Linked DNA regions of Homo sapiens: region 1 is linked to region 2. Evidence: promoter capture Hi-C in 16 types of primary human blood cells and fetal thymus (Javierre and others, 2016). All regions are on one chromosome and are shown on one strand. Each heading gives the region's core, a stretch centred on a gene start or on the middle of the fragment in contact. The rest is flanking DNA. Distances are from core to core; before and after follow the strand shown.

The links. The method cuts DNA at HindIII sites, captures the fragments that hold promoters and counts their contacts. A CHiCAGO score of 5 or more calls a contact.
Region 1: a contact is called between a fragment that was not itself captured here and the fragment with the promoter of TCL1A in region 2, in 1 of 17 cell types (naive B cells). The highest score is 5.3, in naive B cells.

What each region holds. Positions count from the first base shown.
Region 1 is chr14:95,568,188-95,571,519 of GRCh38, forward strand. No RefSeq gene overlaps it. Among named protein-coding and RNA genes, the nearest start is that of LINC02318, 3.7 kb to the right of the region's middle. The HindIII fragment of the contact is 1,647 bases long and covers 1,126-2,772 here.
Region 2 is chr14:95,712,686-95,715,895 of GRCh38, forward strand. It overlaps TCL1A (TCL1 family AKT coactivator A), which reads right to left and starts at 1,440. Exons shown (of 4, transcript NM_021966.3): 1 at 1,262-1,440. The coding sequence starts at 1,381. LOC107984703 (a long non-coding RNA gene) reads left to right here and starts at 2,798. Exons shown (of 3, transcript NR_148060.1): 1 at 2,798-3,022. RefSeq lists enhancers at 1-60, 1,175-1,224 and a silencer at 1,455-1,694. The HindIII fragment of the contact is 7,267 bases long and covers 1-3,210 here.

The DNA.
Region 1 (3,332 bases), core at 699-3,198, 140 kb before region 2:
CTTTGTTGATTCCACAGCTTTTCAATGTCTATAGAGTATAATTTTGGTAACTTTTCCATTTTTTTCCTAATTGTTACAGCAGGAACCCAGGCTGCTGTGACCTACTGCATTCTATACAGAGGTGAAAGTTGGACAAGCCATTTTGTTGTTGTTCATTGCTGTTTTCCCAGTACCTGGGAGAATATTTAGCACACAGTGGATGCTCAAAAATATTATTGGATTGAGTCCAAATATTGGACTTTGAATAGAAAACTCAGATTTAAGTTTTGATTCTAGCTCTGGGGACCATGGAACTGTTATTTCACATCTCTGAGGCTCAGTTTCACCATCTGTAATATGGTGGTAATAATATCTTTCTGCCTATAGAGTTGTGAAAAGAATAAAAAGAGAGCTTATATATAATGTACTTAGCACATCGGAGATATCAAGCAAATTGAATACCTAAGATGTTACTTATTCTACTTTTCCTACTCTGCCATGCATTTAAGTTATTTGAGTGTAATGATGACTGTGGTGGTGAAGACAAAGGGTGTGAGACATAATTAAAAGATAGAATTGGAGATGTTGAGATAAGGGAGAAGCAGAAGCTGAGTATAAAGTCCAACTTTCTGCACCGTGGCCTCGGAGCTGGCATTCCCTGGGCCAGTTATGGGTGGGTTTCACACTTTTCTATTGCCTAGGGTTCCTTGGCCTAATGACAGAGTTCATCAACACTGTACAAATGCACGTGCAATGGAGTGGTGTTTCCATTTGTGTGGTCACAGTGGGGAGTGGGGAGAGAAATTCTAAGAGATAAACCCCGGCATCTTTTTTTAAGATGACTTGAAACCCATCTAGTATGCAGACTGTGGGGGCCAAGTGCTATTAGCCACTATCAGGAATTATTCATCAAGTCTAGTCATGTGAGAGGGGCTTGGAAGCCCTTGCAGTTTCTAATCACCACTGGTGTGTGAAATAGATTTTAATTAGCATACAGGTTGTAGGAGTCTTTGATCAGTCCTGCCATTTGGATCATATAACTGACCCAACAGTTTGAGATTCTCTAAGCCCTAGTAATAAATAGCAGGGAGAAGAAGAGGCTTAGAATGTAATAATCATGGCTCAGCCTCGGGTTTGGGATGATAAAGCTTCTTGCTGAATATATGCAGGCCTTCTTGATCCTGGGCATTAAACAACTTTTCTCTCTCTCTTCTCTCTCTCTCTCTCTCTCTCTCTCTCTCCTCTCTCTCTCTATCTCACTGTATGTGTGTAAAATAAGTTTGGGGAATTATTTTCTAAATATCAACATTTAGGGGGCTGGGGGTTATTTGTTAAATATCAACATTTCCAAAAAAATACAGGTGTCTTCAAATCAACCATTTTTGATAGCCAGAGATCACAGTGTGCTGGCAGTATGATGGGTTTTCTTAGCAAACTGAGGTAATCACACTAACCACTTTCATGGCATTTCCCAGGGGACCAGCGTTTCCGGAGGCATCAGGCGGAAGGCAGAGATCTAGGATCTGATTGAAAAAAACACCTGCAATCAAATGCATTCTCAAACCATTTATCTAGGTACAGGTGTGAGCATAGATTTAGGTGTAGGCATAGGTATAGGTATATGTATAGATATAGATGTACCTAAATCTATAATCCTTGGAGATTCTTTGTCATCTCTGAATCTCTGCCTTCTCATCTCTAAAGTGGGTTTAATAACAGTCTCTCCCTGATGGAGTTACTGTAAGGATTAAATGAGATACCATAATCTAAAAATCCTGGCAGAGTATCTTTCCTCTTTCATGTTTTTCATTTTTGTTGTTGTTGTTGTTAGATTGTTTGTTTTTGAGATGGAGTCTTGCTATGTTGCCCAGGCTGGAGTGAAGTGGCGCGATCTCAGCTCACTGCAACCTCCCGTGTTCAAGCCATTCTCCTGCCTCAGCCTCCCAAGTAACTGGTAGCCGGGATTACAGGCATCTGCCATCACACCTGGCTAATTTTTGTATTTTTAGTGGAGACAGGGTATCACCATGTTGGCCAGGCTGACCTCAAGTGATACACCCACCTCGGCCTCCCAAAGGGCTAGGATTATAGGTAGGCACCACCACACCAGACTAATTTTTGTATTTTTAGTAGAGACAGGGTTTCACCATGTTGGCCAGGCTGGTCTTGCACTCCTGACCTCAAGTGATCTGCCCGCCTCGGCCTCCCAAAGTGCCAGGATTACAGGCATGAGCCACCGCACCCAGGCTTCATTTCTTTTTTCTAACTTTTCTTGGTTATCTTTCCAGCTTCCTCTTCCCGATGAACTTTAGAATCATTTTGTCAACAGATTTTCTTTTTAATTTATGCTCACCTACACACATTCAAGGCATTGAAAAATAGCCGCAATTTCAGCCTGTCCTCAGCCCTGCAAAACATGGGCGGCGTTTGGCAGGAGATGCTTCCGCTTTCACCTTCTGAGAGCCAGTGGTCACCAGCCTCACCTCTCTGCTGGCACCTGGCAAAGGGAAAATAACTTGCTGAGGACTCTGGGAGGATTTGCTCATCTCTCCATCAGCCTCACCCTGGCAGTGGGATTTCTGCTTCTCCTTTGAAAGGCAGTCTGGTGAGACGCTGATAGTGATGCTGATCTGATGCTGGTGCTGATTCTAACGCCAATGCCAATTTTATCAGTTATATAATAACAGCAACATGAATAGTATTTTTTGAGTATTTGTTCTGGGTCAGAAACTGTGCCAATCATTTTACATATTTTATCTCCTCTAATGTAGTCAATATGGTACAGGAGTTGGAAGCTTTTTCTGTAAAGCATAAAAGCATAAATATTTTCAGCTTTGCTGGCCATACGTTCTCTATTGCAACTATTCAACATTCTTTTTCTTTTCTTTTTTTCTTTGTTTTTTTGGAGACAGAGTCTCACTCTCTCACCCAGGCTGGAGTGCAGTGGCGTGATCTCAGCTTACTGCAGCCTCTGCCTCCCAGGTTCAAGCAACTCTCCTGCCTCAGCCACCCAAGTAGCTGGGATTACAGGCATGTGCCACCACGTCTGACTAATTTTTGTATTTTTAGTAGAGATGGGGTTTTGCTATGTTGTCTAGGCTGGTCTCAAACTCCTGAGCTCAAGTGCTATTCCCACCTTGGCCTCCCAAAGTGCTGTGATTACAGGCGTGAGCCACTGTGCCCAGCCTCAACTTTGCTTGTATAGTGCAAAAACAGCCATAGCCAATACGTAAACAAATGGGCATGGCTGTGTTCAAATAAACATTTACAAAAACACTCAGTGTGTTGAATTTGGCCCACAGACCATAGATTGCCAACCCTAGCAGAAAGGAATGGCTCAGAGGGGAGACTCT
Region 2 (3,210 bases), core at 190-2,689:
AATTCCAGTGCTTTGGAAGGCAGAGGCAGGAGGATCGCTTGAGGCCAGGAGTTTAAGACCAGCCTGGGTCACAGAGCGAGACCCTGTATCTACAGGAAAAAAAAAAAACAACAAAGAAAGAAAGAGAGAAAAAGAATACTGGCCTTTTCAATGATGTGAGGCAAAATCTGTCCCACAGTTTGCTAGTGGGTTATTTTTTGTGGAGCATGTATCATGATTTTATGAAAAACTGTCTGGTTCGTGGTTTTGGTGTCACGTTGAAGAAGAGATTTCTCAGAGATTTAAAAAAAGAAATCCACTGAATCTTCAAATTATTTCTTCAAATTTTGATTTTAAAAAAGTAAGTATTTAACTTGATTTTTAAAGTAAAAACATATTTAAAAAATTGAAATGCCAATAAAAATGCAGATTTTGTGGTGGTTAAGAGCCTAGAATTCCAACCCCATTACCTACTAGCAATCTTACCTCGGACAAATGTACATTTTTGTGCCTCAGTTTCCCATCTGTAGAGACACAGTCAACACTCAATAATTTTTGATTGCTACTGGACATACGTGTTCTAATATATTTTTTAATTTTTATGCTTTCTTCAGTGTATGTTTGGAGAGAGTTTGAACATTTTTTGACTCTTTTTCATTGAGTAAATCCAAATACTTGTAAAAGACTTATCTATTTCTTTAACAAAAACTTAACATGGATTAAGGACCCATCTTAAGGCATCACACATTAAAAAAGTCAATATTGATTCAATACCGGCGCTTATACTACGACATCACTTGTTAAATTTGTTTTCTAAATAAAGCCCAGAGGTAGTGGAAAATACTTCACACTCTAGGCCAGTGTTTGCTATGCCTGGTTGACCCTAAACTGTTGAGGGTTCTTTTTAAAAATACAGATTTCTGGGACCCACCTGAGATGATTCCGATAATCGGCCATATGGATGAGTCACTTAGAGATACCCATTTTTAAGGATTAGGACCCCGAAGCCCAGAAAATGCCTGCTGTAGTCAACATTATAGTCACACTCCACAGGCACTGGGTCCACCCCTTTGACCGACATTCCTTTGCGGTTTTCCCACCCTTCTTCCCTGCCTGGAGAACTCCTATTCATCCTCCAGAGCCCGGCTCAAAGTGGCTTCATCTGTGGGGATCCTCCCTGCCCCATAGTGAGTGCTCCTTGAGTCCTCGCCCTTCCTAGGGCATCCCAAGCTCCCAGGGGCTGCCCCTGCTGCCTCGCCATCCGCTCCAAAGCTGGCTGTACCTCGATGGTTAAGGGCAGCCAGGCGTGCTGCTTCTCGTCCAAATACACGAACTTCTCCCAGGCCCACAGGCGGTCCGGGTGGTCGGTGACTGCCTCCCCGAGTGTCGGGCACTCGGCCATGGCGTCCTCGGGCCGCCTAAGAAGCAAGAGCCAGAGCCTCTCAAGGCCGCTCGCTGGTCCCTGGGATGTGGGGCCGACCCTTTATATCCGGGCAGCATGCGGCCGCCACCAAGCGGCGGGGCGGGAGGACGGCCTTGGGGCGGGACCCCGGGTCGGGAGAACGACCTTGGGGCGGGGCGTAAGGCAGGATGGGGCGGGGTTTGTGGGGGTCTTGGTGGCAAGTGAGGGTCCCGCGCAGGCGCTACGTCCCGGCCTGACTTGCTCCCTGGAACGGTGGCAGCTCCTGGGAACGCAGACCCGGCCCCAGCTGGCCCGCGCCTTCCTCGAGGCCCCGGCCAGCAGCGACACCGACCGCCGCCCTCTGCTGCTGCTGGAGAGGCACCGGGGTGACCTTGGCCCTTTCTTCTTCTGGAAGACCCCCCCGCTTCCCTCGGCTGCCGGACCGGGACTCTGGGCCTCTGCTGGGAACTCACAGTCGACACCAGGATGCCCAGAGCCAGGACCCACTCCTCATCTTATGGGATCAGAAGAGACCCGCGCGGGCCTGAGTTAGGCCTGGGCTTTCCCGGGTTCCCTGGATCTCCACCAGCCTGTGCCTTTGAGTGTCAGAGTACGTTTTTTGGCAAAGGACAACTCCTGACGCTCCCTCTCCCTCTTCCATACACAAAGCATGCGTTTTCCACAGGTCTGATGTGCTGTGGACATCTAATAGCTATTACAAAATGGAGAATCATGGGTTTTTGCCCTTGGGCTTTGAGTTTACTAGTGAAAGCATAGTTCGAAATGAATACTTAAAAAGAAATCCCTCCTTCCACCCTAAGATCAATGGATTTGAAAAGTGCCTGGTTTATATGATCAAAACCACCCCTCTGTAAATTACAAGCAATAAGGAAAACAATTTCACTTTATTTTGCAGTAACGCATTCCCACTAAGGCAATTAAGAAAGTCATGCACAATGAAAAACATGTGAAACCAGCTCCAGCCTGGTTCAAACATCACCATGGGATGGAGTTTGGTGTCTCATCTTCCAGCTCTTTCCCAGTTCTCTGACCAGGCACTAAGAACATAATTTGTGATCCTTTGAAATATCACCAAAGTGGAAATTAAGAGATCTGATGAGGACATCTGATTCACCTGGCAGCTGGGTATCTGCCTCTTTGCCTATCCAGAGAGCCTAATTCCCAAGAAGGGGCTGAGAGGGCCTAAGGTAGTCGAGACATAATGGGATTTACCAGGAACACAACATAGAAGAGAAAAGCCAAGGGAAGTTGGGGGTGGAGTGAGGGCCCTTGAGCTCAGCAAACCTCTTTTCCACTGTAGCCCTTAGTGGTGTTAATATTTAATATGCAAACTTAAAGGTTTCATGCTGATTTTCCTGTGAATGGCTCTTGACTCCAGACCTAGATAGCCACAGAGCAAGATGACAAGCTCGCTAATAAGCTCTGTTGGGGAGGTCTCAGCCCAGGCCAGAGCTGTGAAGTGAGAAATAAGTCCAGTTTAAATAGTGCTGCTGGGATGGACTTTTGTGGCCAGGGAAGGGGTACCCAGGAGCCAGTGTGGCCACTGACCCAGCCTCATCAATGGCCCTAGGATCCAGAATGCCACAAACAATGGAGCAAGAATCAGATCTGTGTGTCTGGGTAAGCAGAATGTTCTGAGAATATAATTCCTTTTTCCTTCTTTTGTAAGAACAATTTATTTCTTCAGTTTTGCATGAGGGCTTCTTAATATTGAGCAAGAATATACATCATTATTGCGTGAGATTTAGAAAATTATTTGAGAGAGGGTTCCAATAAATGAAAATGAATTAAGGATGTCTGTGGAGTTC